4 separate regions of the Homo sapiens genome follow, and all the other regions are linked to region 4. Evidence: promoter capture Hi-C in 16 types of primary human blood cells and fetal thymus (Javierre and others, 2016). All regions are on one chromosome and are shown on one strand. The core of a region is centred on a gene start or on the middle of the fragment in contact, and the rest is flanking DNA. Distances in the headings are between cores, read along the strand shown.

Region 1 (3,237 bases), core at 708-3,207, 550 kb before region 4:
TTAATGGCCTGTGTGACAAAACGGGAAATATGTGTTAACTCTTTGCTACTGCATGTAGTATGGTAGGAGATAGCACTTTCTCATCATTTTTACTTGAAAGAAAAATTAATGTATGCATTGTGGTTAGAAAGACTTAAAGACTTTTTTTTTTTGAAAAGGTACAATGTGAATTATCACTGAAAGGAAAACAGCTGACAATATTTGTTGTCAATGAAAAAATTCAAGCTTTTGAGTGAAAACTCAATTTTTGGTGAACTTTTGCCCACCATAATGAGCTTAAAAATACTTGAAGGCTTTTCTGACAAAACCAATGGTGATGATTAACAAGTGTGATTTTATGGTATTATATGATGAAATGCATTTACATTTGGAAGATCTGTGTAACTCAATAAGCCAGTATTTTCCAAATAACCAATATGTGATGTTACAAAACCACACATGGGTAAAAGATCTATTCAAAATGGAAGTGAGACCAATGGAATTTAATGATAAAAAAAATTCATTAACTTGATTTTGGATTCCATATAACAACTAACCTCTAAGAAACTACCATTTATCAAGTTCTGGCGTAGTATCAAAGAAGAATATCTACAATTCCCTGAAAAAGCTATTAAAATACTTTCTGCTTTTCCACTTACATATCTGTATATGGTTAGATATTCTTCATATACTAAAACCAACAAAACATAACAGATTGAAGGTAAAAATAGATATAAAATTCAGCTATCTTCTATTAAGCCAAACTCATTAAATTTGCAAAAGTAAAACAATGCCAGTCTTTTCATTAAACTTTTTGTTTTGGAAAATATTTTTTTTAGTTTAAATATTTCTGTTAATATATAATAAGCTTATTTCCTAAATTAAGAAATATTTTTAAATTTTTTCAAATTTAATTTTCAATATGGCAAATATTGATATAACTCACATAAAGTTCTCTGGGTAACAAGTTTGGGGAGTTAGGAAAAAAAAGTTCTATCCATAATTGTTAACAATGTAAAGGGGGTCCTGAAACCAAAAAGTTTGAGAATCATTACTCTACATTAACCTTGTGAGCAAATCCTCTTGACTGGGTGCCCTTTAATTGTCAAGATTCTATTTTCAGAATATAACTAGGTAAAAAGAACGGGGGGAGTAGGTAACCAGAGTTAGCAATTTAGGAATCCATAGCAACTTCGAACACCCCAAAATGTTTGATTTTGAACACATTTATATAAACATGTGCAGCTTTGGCTGACTAAAACTTGATTCTTTGAAGTACGAGTTTGTTTTAAATGGCCGTTTCATGATAAGTACATTGTGTAGAGAACGGCAAAATGTGAGCCATCTGAATAAACACTCCAGGTACCCAATTTTATTTAACAGTTCAAGTTCAAAAGAGCAGACTAACTTTAAATGTCTGTTCCTTTCATGTTACAGTTAACCCTTGAACAACACGGTTAGAACTGCACAGGTCCACTTATATGCAGATTTGTTTCAGCCAAATGCAGGATGCGGAACCCACATACACAGAGGGCCAACTTTACATGGTCCCAGCAGGGCCAGCTTCAGAACTTGAATATGTGTGGATTTTGGCCTGTTCATGGGATCTGGGAACCAAGCCCCCACATATACCAAGGGACAACTGTATAAACACTGCTAGTATACTCTGGTAACTACTGGATACTAAAGGTAAACATTACAGACAGCATCTGGGTAAAGACCCTTCTAAAAGTTTTTCAATTATTTAGGAAAACGCCTGCCCAGAAACACCCGTGGACATCACTGAATGATATCCGATGTTTCCCAGTGGAGATCACAGAAAAGACTGGGTCAGACACTTGACAAATAGCTAGCTCTGACTCCAGACTAGTCATGTTAGGGATATCTTAATGCTTTCCAAAACAAGCAAAAACGTTTACCCCACTAGATAAATGATCAATTTCAGATGAATATCTTATTTTAAAAAACACATTTTTTTCACATGCCTTGGCATGAATGCATGTGATATATCCAAAGTCAAGGTTCCTTACTTACTAGTTGAAATCGATGTCCAAAACTTAGCCATTCTTTCTCCACAAGGACTTCAAATCCTCGGATGGTTCGATAGTATCCATCCAACATGAGCATGGCAAGGGAAGTGAGCTGAGCTGTGCGATCCCAACCATCACTGCAATGCACTACCACAGACGTCTTCCCTGACTCTACCTTGTCAGCAATCCTAAGAGCCCCTGCAAGAATAAGCTGGAAAACAGATTTTTTAATACATTGTTTTTAAACAAGGTAAATACTTCCTTCTTCAAAATTTACTAATACAGCTTATCAGGGATCATTATTTCAATAACATGAGGAAAAACATTTGTCCCTTCCTAAGAAGAATTTTTTTAAATGGTAGAAGATATATAAATTTTGCTTTTAAAACTAGAAAAACCTCATAATTGCTGACTCCTATTAATTTGCCCAACGAAATAGCCAAATCAAAAGTACCTTTGGGTGCTACATAAATCATGGTGTAAGATTCTTCTTAGAAAAGTTCTAAAGAGATCTGTTTCTAAGAATCAAATATTCCATCATCTATTTAAATAAAAATAATTGATATAGCAATTGAAGCCTTGTTATGATTTAAAACAATGCTTAAACCAAATTGGGATAAGCACCTGAAAGCAATAATACTGGATCTCTTTAAAATACTCTATAGCAGTTATTGTATTGTTTTGACTAAAGATTTTTATGTCACAGAGCATACAGCAAGCACAGTATAAACTTTAGAGTGAGCTACTTTTCTGTAACACTGCATGAAAATTCACAGAATATGTCAATCTGTTACTTAAAATAACTTCAGCTCTTATTTTTTTAAATATGCAGAAATCCTTTGCAAAATAACTTACCTTTTCTGAAGTCAATCTTGAGTTAAAACTAAACATAATTAGATATAACCAAAAAAGAAACACAAAAGTATGGTATCTTAAAAAAAAAAAAAAAAAAAAAGGACAATACAGCCCTATTCTTCTCTGCAATGGCCATATTGTATTATACTTGAAAAACAGTATAGTTCTACATACGCAGATGAGAATGAAAGAAAACAGATTATTAAGCTTGGAAGTATGATAACCTCCCCTTGATCACAGCTATAAGCATATTCTGGAAATGGGGTACTATGACGATCTTGACTATATATCAAGAGTCATTTGTAAGCCTGAAGTGCCTAGACCTCATTGTCCAATGATCCTAATTCAGTATCTTAAATAAATTCCACCTATA
Region 2 (3,060 bases), core at 86-2,585, 560 kb before region 4:
TACAAGTTACGAGCAAAATAGTGGTTACATCGATTGATTTTTGAATAGTGGACCAGCCTTGCATTGATGTAATAAACTCCCACTTGGATGTGATATATAATACTGCTGCATTCACTTTGCTAGCTAACAATAGAAACTAAGATTAGAAGGAAAGCATATGTTTAGCTTAGCATGGTGGTTCCAAATCTGGCTAATCAAAATCAACTGGAGGACTTGAAAACACAAATTTCCAAACCCTAACTCTGCAGTGAGTTTGGTGTGCTGCCTAGGAACCTGCATTTTAAATATGCTTTCTAATAATATTTATGGAGCCAAGTAAGCCCAGCCATCTATTTATAAAGTGGAATAGTACATTGAGATTGTTGGTTTAGTGTTTAAAACAAAAGCAAAATATCTTTGAGAAGTCTATCAGGTTTTTCTTACACACGTGATAGACATGTAATTTAGTGCTTCCTATTATTCCAGGATACAGAAATGAACAATAGTGTCTACCACCTGGATGTACACTGTTTAATAGGTGAAATAGATATGTAAAAGCAATTAAAATATGATAAATGCTATGAGAGAGATGTAAAAAGTGTTATAGGTGATCTGATAATGGACTGATTGATTACCTGGCAGTTTTAAGGAAGCCTTTAAAAATAATATATTTGAACTGGGTTTTAAAGAATGATATAAATGTTGCTAATACACCAAAAAAATGTCATCTGCAAATATGGTTTGTTCACAAAATGGAGAGAAGGGGAGGATGATAGGACATGAGGCTAGGAAATGTAGGTTGCAGCTCAATGATGTGTATGTAGGGCCTTATTTTCCATTCTGAAACATAGTTAGTGGATTTATATCAAAGGATTTCAAATAGAAGAACATCATGATGAGAATAATTTTAGGATTTATATACTCTACTTTAGGGGGTGGAGAGTTCTTTTTACCTAGGCTTAGGGAATAGAAAGTGGTGTAGAGAATATAACTTCAATTACTTCTTTCATCATTTTTCTTCCTTTAGTCCACAAGCCCTAGCCATGCCGTGGTAGCCAATGTTCAGCTTGTCTTGCATCTAATGAAGCAACACAGTAAAGCTTTGTGCAATGATCGAGTCATCAACAGTATTCCTTTGGCAAAGCAAGTATCTTCACGAGGTGGTAAAAGTAAGAAGTTGTCAGTAACACCTCCCTCCTCCAACGGTATTAATGAGGAGTTGTCAGAAGTCTTACAGACTTTACAGGATGAATTTGGGCAAATGAGCTTGTGAGTTTTTGTTTTTTTTTTTAAATTCAGTTTAGCTCTAAAACCTCATTTTTTAAAAACTTGTTGACTTTATTAAATCTTACTTTCCTTTGTTGAGCAAGTATGGTTGAGCACAATCCTTATACCAACCAAGTTACTGGGACTTTAACAAATACAACTAATAAGGGTAAAATCTCTCTCTTTTTAAATACTGTTAAATGTTTTGAAGACCAAGGTTTATATTTAAGTTTTATTTCTTTGAGAACTTATGATATACAGTCATGCATCACTGAATGACAAAGATGTGCTCTGAGAAATACATCATTAGGCGATTTTCTTTTCCTTGTGCTAACATAAGAGTGTGCTAAGCTTATAGCTTATTGCTCCTAGGCTACAAACCTATACAGCATGTTACTCTACTACTAAATACTATATGCAGTTGTAACACAATGGTAAGTATTTGTGTATATAAACATCTAGGTAGAGTAAAAATATGATACTAAAGTCTTACGGGACCACTGTTGTATATGTGGTCTGTTGTTTACTACATCATCATCTGGCACCTGACATCACATTCATTTTAGCTAAACTTAACTGATAAGACATGAGTGTTTGAAGAGCAAGATTCATCTGTAGACTTTACATATACAATACTCTTTTGGGGAAAATAAGAATATAAAGAATTAACCTTGAAATTAAGAACTCTTGCATTTCCCTCTAGTGCCTTTCTTGAACTTTTAAATTCATATTTTTAATTAAAAATTTCTTGATCTAGGCTAGGCATGGTGGCTCACACCTGTAATCCCAGCACTTTGGGAGGCTGAAGTGGGCATATCACATCCTGGCTAACAGGGTGAAAACCTGTCTGTACTAAAAATACAAAAAATTGGCCAGGCATGGTGGCAGGCGCCTGTAGTCCCAGCTACTCGGGAGGCTGAGGCAGGAGAATGGCGTGAACCCGGGAGGCAGAGCTTGCTGTGAGCCGAGATCATGTCACTGCACTCCAGCCTGGGCGACAGAGCAAGACTCCGTCTCAAAAAAAAAAAAAAAATTTATTGCTCTGTTCAAAAAATGGAGTCATTTTTTAAACACATGGAGCAGTAACCCATAATGAGGTATAATAGACCTAACCATGAAACACAGAAAACTTAACCATGTTCTACTTCTGCTTTGTATATAGTGATCACCAGCAGCTTGCAAAACTTATCCAGGAGTCGCCAACCGTTGAACTGAAAGACAAGTTGGAGTGTGAATTGGAGGCATTAGTGGGAAGGATGGAAGCAAAAGCCAACCAAATAACTAAAGTTCGAAAATACCAAGCCCAGGTAACTCAGTTTTCCTTCACTCAAGTTTCTAATGATTAAGAAAAAAAAAACACTTTAATTCAAATATTAAATGATGACACTAAGTGTATCATAGATAAATATCTACAGGAGATACTTCTTTACTGAAGACATTTGTTCATTGAGAATTGGTAAGTGGATTAAGAAAGAAGACACTTTTAGTCACTTAGCATATTCATCTAAGAAACATCTTTCAAATACTGAATATATTTAATATTCTTTATGAATAAGCTTTAACTTCTTTGATGAATTTAAATTGGAGTTTATCCAAGTAAGTTTTTTTAAAAGCACCTGCGAAATTCTGTTTCCAAAGGAATAAGTCATACATTAAATATGTGAAATATATTTATGTTGCTAATCATTTTATATCAGCCAACAATGTAGTACTACCAGATGCAGTGGTGACATCACACTCAAGGGTTTTCAACCAGAGAGAAACATGATTCATATATTTAAGAGATTACTGTAGTGACTAGGGGTAGGGTAATGG
Region 3 (2,951 bases), core at 335-2,834, 520 kb before region 4:
TGACTGGATGTTAAGAGTCCAGAAAAGAAAAAAAGAGCAGTCTAGTACGACAACCAGATTTCTGACTTGAGTAAATGGACAGCTGGTATTGATGTCAACTGAGAGAGAGAATGCAAGAAAAAGAGTAAGTTTGGAGTTAAACGTGATGATTTCCATTTTGGAGATGTTGGGTATAAGGTTCCTATGGGATATTCAAGGATGTGTGTTTAAGATAGAGGCATTTGTTTACTTACATTAGGACAGGGGTTCACACTGGAGATAACAAATTTTGGAGTCATCAGCCAATATATGGCAAGTGATGTTACAAATTTAGATATGGTCAACCGAAAAGAGTATACAGGAGGGAAAAGGGAAATGGGTCAAGGATGAAGTCCTAGGGCGTGTTGCTATTAAAGGAAGAAGAGCCAACAAATGAGACTGAGTGGTAACTTGAAGTTCTTTAATAAAGCCATATTTCATAATGGGAGCTGCAATTACGGCATTAAGTTCAGAATAAGAAAAAGAAATTGTCACAATGCTAGATATAACCTTATTAGCTAGGTTATCTTCCTATGCCTTAGTTTCCTTCCTCACCTATAAAATGGGGTTGATGTTATTCTCAAGAATATACTCTCTGAGAATGACTGAGATAGTAAGCACTCAATAATAATAACTACTATCATTATATAATAGCCAATTCTGAAAAAATGTAAGTAGGTAGTTCAGATCAAGAGCTTGGTGTATATATAAGGCTAACTGGGGAAAAGAAAAAGACTGAGAGGTTATTCAATCAAGAGCCAAGAGCAAGAAAAGACAAATAGCATGCTAAGGACTAGGAAGCTAAATTTAGTAAATAATAATCCATTTAGAATACAGGTCCTGCCTTTGGCTTGTTTTTACACATAGAAATGACACCTAGCCAAGTAAAATTCAGCATTTTTAAAATCCTTTTTAAAAATTATGATTGGTAACAAAATGAAACATGGTAGTTATATTAACTAAGAAATCATTTACTTCATTCTTCTAACATATTACTTTATTTCTCAGAGTTTATGAGTAGATATCTGTAGATTATCACACAGATGAAACAAAACAAAAGCATGAGGAAAAAAAACACAGCTTGTAAGCTCATTTTCAGTTTCCAGTCCATATTATAAGTATTAGGCTGGGCAGAGAAGGGCATCTACATACAAACAGATGCAATGGAGATGATGTATTTCATCCAAAAATTAACCTGACTTTATTCAGAGAAGAAAGACATGAAGGAAGCAAACAGAAGAGAAGATATTTTAAGAAAAATTACTTGTATAAGGTGACAATTCAATGTTTTTATCTAGGCAACTCAATATCTGAATATAGTAATTCAAAATAATAAAATTTTCCTTCACAGGCTTCAGCAACAGTTTTAGCAAAAATCCACCTACTTTTAAAGAAAGTAAAACAAACCAGAGAAGAGGCAAAGTATAATTCAATTTGCATGTTTCCCAGGAGTTCAAACACAAACACTAGCAGCGGGTCTAGGCTTACGTTTGTAGAACACACTAAGATGCTGAGAAGACTGCAGGTAAAGAGTTCTGCCAGACAGGAGGTGTCTCTGACAGCCAGTTTATTCTCTGTATGCTGAGAGTACTGAACATTCTGCACAGTAGAACGGAGAAGGACATTAAGCAAAAAATACCATTACGGACCCATGTCTTTAATATTTTCTCCTGGAAGCAAGGGTGGTTCTTCCATTTCTGCTAACTTGTTAGACTCCCTCAGGACCTGGGGTGGGAAAGACAAAAAAAGAAACATTTTTTTATTCAAAGGCTACTTTTTCACTCATATTTCAACTGAGTATACTTGCTCTTGAAGTTATAACATCATATCACATACACTATTTTAAATCAAATTTGTTAAACTGTAGTGTTGGCATGTATAATATATGAAGTTAATGTTTTTCTAGAAAGCATTTACTGAGTGCTTAAATCATATCAAAGCACTCTACATTTGTTACACAAAAAATTGTACATGTTTTTGCACTGCATCCTAAGACAGCCTAACAATAAAAGAGGTATTATATCCTCATTTCTCAGATGAGGAAAAAGCAGCCGAAAGTGGTAATTAGTTCAAGATCACATAGTTAAAGTGCCAGTGTGTAGATCTGAACTACAGTTGAATGGATTCCAAAGCCATGCTGAAGGGCCATAGTACATTTAAACTCAGACAAAATTAAGTTCTTGTGTAGATTTAATGTTTAGAGAATTTAGAAATGATGTTGATAAATCATCTTGTTGAAAAAGAGTTTAAATAAATTCATGATCAACAAATATGACCAGGTAGTTACCTTTTGAAGGATGCTACACTATATTCCAAGAATGTGGATACAGAAACAGTTCTCTAAAGGAGTTACAACCCAGAGAACACACAGACACACCCAAATTGTCATATGCTAAATATATCCCCCATTAACTACCAAAAGCCTTCCTCACCTCCTCCCACCTCTCTCACCATCAAACAGTAAATTTCTGTCTCCAATCCCATTAATTCCTCCATCTTCCGCAATCTGGCTCACCTGCGGCCAATAACTAAGAACTACAAAGAACAAATTAACTTATTTTCAATAAATTTGCAATCTAAACAAATTCATTCTTTTGAAAGTTTAACAATTTGTTTCATAAAGTAACTTTAATGCAATACCTAAAGAAATAGTATATACACACATACATATTTTTATGTGCCACATCTAAACTTCAGAAAAGTCGTCTTTAAAGGTCATCTTTTAAACACGCTATCTAGTTGCCAGTCCCTAAATAGTCTTATGTAGTCATAAAAGAAGAGAAGAAGGAAAGAAGAGAGGAAAGGAGGACCAGCCTATGAAGATGGGGTTAAAAAGGCAAAAACTTGCCATATACAAAAATATAGACTTGGGTTCACATCCTGACTGCACCACATACTAACTTGGTACTCTTAGGCAAGGTTTTCAACTTCTC
Region 4 (3,070 bases), core at 1-2,500:
CTCAAGAAAAGATTCATTCTAGAAATCACCTACTTGCTGTATAAACAATGCAGGTGGTAGTTAACACTTTACAGATTTGAAAGGCAGTGGAACCCCAGGTCATTATTTGAAATTCTACCAGGAGGGATCCATTCTTGGGTGTAAAACATCACTCCTCTTCGATGTTTTCTTTTATATGGCAGTTTGGAGAGCAAAGATTAATAAGCCGAAAAATAATTATTGAATATCTACCAAAATGCAAGCACCTGCTAGGAACTGTGCTGCCACCATTTCAAATAAACATGGTCTCTGCTCCCAAGGAGCTCACAATCTGATGAAATTACTAGGGACACCAAAAACAAGCCAGCATAATACACGATTTGAGGGCTACAGTGTATGATTAAGATCAAGTTCTTATCACACTGCTATGAATAAATTTATCATAGTTCTTCTATTGGCAGGAAAACAAGACAGAACATGACAGAAATAGGATATAAGAAAATAAACATAAAGAGAGGAAAGCCTATTTCCCCCACTTAGAATCACAGTCCAACAGTCCACAATTTCGCAAAGTGGATCCTGCCAGCATGGTATCCGGGATAACTATATTATTCATTAAAATCCGTTAACAATGAAGGTTAATGCAGCAGGAATGAGTGGTAGACAGTGGAATAGATCCTCTCAGGAATTAACACCCGGAAGGGTGACTTTCATGATTACAAACCTCTTTGGCGGGACGCAGGAACCCAGCGCCCGCTAGCCCACTAGTCCGTCACTCTGCCTCCAGGAGGGAGGGGCACAGTAGCTAGGAAACCGGACCCTCAGGCCAAGCTTCGCGATGACGCGCGCAGGACGACGGAAACCCCCAGACCCCAAAAGAGCTCTGCACCGAGAAAACAATTACAAGGGTCTGGAAAGGCCAGAAACCCGAGAAATCACCAACCGAGCTCCCTACATCAGTTCCAAGCACCTCCCCAAGGCGGAAATAACGGGCACCGCGCCCACTGCAGCTCAGCTGAGGAGGGTTAGAGGCGCAAAGGGCTGAGGGGCGTTCTCCGGCCCACCCAAAGAGCGCCCGCGGGAATTTTTCTCTTAGTCCGCGAGGAGGCACGGCTTCCCCCGCCCCTCTCATAAACCATTAGCACCGGGAGCGCGAGCGAGTCCCAGCCGGGAGACAGCCCCGCACCGCCCTCGCGCTCTCACCTTTCAAAGCGCCTCCACCTCTGCCTCCGCCTCCGCCCCTGCCCCGGCAACCAGCTCAGGACAAGCGATGCTCCTCCCCCCCTTCCGGGGACCAAGGGAAGTCCCGCCTCTGGGTGGGGCGAGGGGTGGGGCCAGGCGGCGGGAGGGATCATCTTCCGGGAGCGTGGCTAGGGGCGGAGCGACTGCCGCGCGATAGTCAGGGAGCTGTGCGGGTCCTGGTTGCAAGAGAGGTGGGGAGAGGGGCCTGGCGGGTTTTGAGGGACTGGGAGGACTGTCCCGGCTAAAGCTGGCGCGGGAAACTGGGGCTGCGCGGCGGGAGGGCCCTGCTGCTGGGGAAGGAATCTAATATATCCGTTCCCCTGAGGAAGGGTGCCAGTCCTTGACTCCTAGGCTCTTCGGCTCTCTGTCGTAACTTTGGGGTGTGGCAGGGGTTAGTGACGCGCGGTTACCCGGGATCTGGACGTGCAGGAGGTTCGTGGCCACAATGGGGGTATAGTCTTTCTCACGGCTGCTGGGGTAATAAAACACATGCTTTTAATCCGGATTATCCGCGGTGACATGGGGCCTCCGCTACTGCCCGTATAAGTTAAAGAAAGGCCTGTTCTCTCAAACTTCCTCCTCTTTCACCTTCTTCTGCAGTCTATTTGCCAGCCAACCCCAGCCCGGGAGGGGATCAGGGCCACCAGGTTGCTGGTAAGGATGAAAGACTGAGTGTGTTAAGACTGTTGAAGTGAGCCTGTGTAAGAGAAGGAAGGATTTTGTGGATTGCTACATTGTGAGTGTGGGGTGAGTCCCAGAACCTCGCTATGTCAGGGAAACGGAAGCGTGTGGTGTTGACTATTAAAGATAAGCTTGATATAATAAAGAAACTTGAAGACGGAGGTTCTTCCAAACAACTGGCAGTGATTTATGGAATTGGTGAAACAACAGTTCGGGATATAAGAAAAAATAAGGAAAAGATTATAACTTATGCAAGCAGTTCTGATTCCACAAGTCTTTTGGCCAAGAGGAAATCTATGAAGCCATCCATGTATGAGGAATTGGACAGGGCAATGCTGGAATGGTTCAACCAGCAAAGAGCAAAAGGGAATCCCATATCTGGACCAATTTGTGCAAAAAGGGCAGAGTTCTTCTTTTATGCTTTGGGAATGGATGGTGATTTTAACCCCTCTGCCGGTTGGCTAACTCGTTTTAAGCAGCGGCACAGCATTAGAGAGATTAACATTAGAAATGAAAGATTAAATGGAGATGAGACTGCGGTGGAAGATTTTTGTAATAACTTTCGAGATTTTATTGAACGAGAGAATTTACAGCCTGAACAAATCTACAATGCAGATGAAACTGGACTCTTTTGGAAGTGCTTGCCTTCTAGGATTTCAGTAATCAAAGGTAAATGCACTGTCCCTGGGCACAAATCAATTGAAGAAAGAGTCACAATCATGTGTTGTGCCAATGCAACAGGTTTACACAAACTTAAACTTTGTGTTGTGGGGAAAGCAAAGAAACCTCGCTCCTTTAAATCAACTGACACCTTAAACCTGCCAGTCTCTTATTTCAGCCAAAAAGGTGCATGGATGGATCTTTCCATTTTCCGACAATGGTTTGATAAAATTTTTGTGCCGCAAGTTCGAGAGTATTTAAGATCTAAAGGCTTGCAGGAAAAGGCTGTGCTCTTGTTGGATAATTCACCAACACATCCAAATGAAAATGTCCTAAGGTCAGATGATGGCCAAATATTTGCTAAATATTTACCACCTAATGTGGCCTCATTGATTCAGCCTTCAGATCAGGGAGTCATAGCAACGATGAAGAGAAATTATCGTGCAGGTCTTCTCCAGAACAACTTGGAAGAAGGTAATGACCTGAAATCATTCTGGAAGAAGCTAAC

The links. Contacts are between HindIII fragments. The CHiCAGO score rates a contact against its expected background, and 5 or more counts as called.
Region 1: a fragment that was not itself captured here is called in contact with the fragment with the promoter of CCDC82 in region 4 in 17 of 17 cell types (naive CD4 T cells, endothelial precursors, total CD8 T cells and 14 more); the score reaches 33.9 in naive CD4 T cells.
Region 2: a contact is called between a fragment that was not itself captured here and the fragment with the promoter of CCDC82 in region 4, in 17 of 17 cell types (naive CD4 T cells, naive CD8 T cells, naive B cells and 14 more). The highest score is 21.3, in naive CD4 T cells.
Region 3: a contact is called between a fragment that was not itself captured here and the fragment with the promoter of CCDC82 in region 4, in 14 of 17 cell types (total CD4 T cells, M2 macrophages, endothelial precursors and 11 more). The highest score is 8.8, in total CD4 T cells.

The regions. Positions count from the first base shown.
Region 1 is chr11:95,842,940-95,846,176 of GRCh38, forward strand. MTMR2 (myotubularin related protein 2) reads right to left here. Exons shown (of 15, transcript NM_016156.6): 11 at 2,014-2,220. Among named protein-coding and RNA genes, the nearest start is that of CEP57, 54 kb to the left of the region's middle. The HindIII fragment of the contact is 2,224 bases long and covers 846-3,069 here.
Region 2 is chr11:95,826,780-95,829,839 of GRCh38, forward strand. CEP57 (centrosomal protein 57) reads left to right here. Exons shown (of 11, transcript NM_014679.5): 9 at 1,007-1,248; 10 at 2,408-2,552. Among named protein-coding and RNA genes, the nearest start is that of CEP57, 38 kb to the left of the region's middle. The HindIII fragment of the contact is 517 bases long and covers 1,078-1,594 here.
Region 3 is chr11:95,863,934-95,866,884 of GRCh38, forward strand. It overlaps MTMR2 (myotubularin related protein 2), which reads right to left. Exons shown (of 15, transcript NM_016156.6): 3 at 1,668-1,743. Among named protein-coding and RNA genes, the nearest start is that of MTMR2, 59 kb to the right of the region's middle. The HindIII fragment of the contact is 3,847 bases long and covers 1-2,951 here.
Region 4 is chr11:96,388,662-96,391,731 of GRCh38, forward strand. It overlaps CCDC82 (coiled-coil domain containing 82), which reads right to left and starts at 1,251. Exons shown (of 10, transcript NM_024725.4): 1 at 1,183-1,251. It overlaps JRKL (JRK like), which reads left to right and starts at 1,352. Exons shown (of 2, transcript NM_001261833.2): 1 at 1,352-1,412; 2 at 1,822-3,070. The coding sequence starts at 1,989. RefSeq lists a silencer at 1,165-1,424. The HindIII fragment of the contact is 1,223 bases long and covers 809-2,031 here.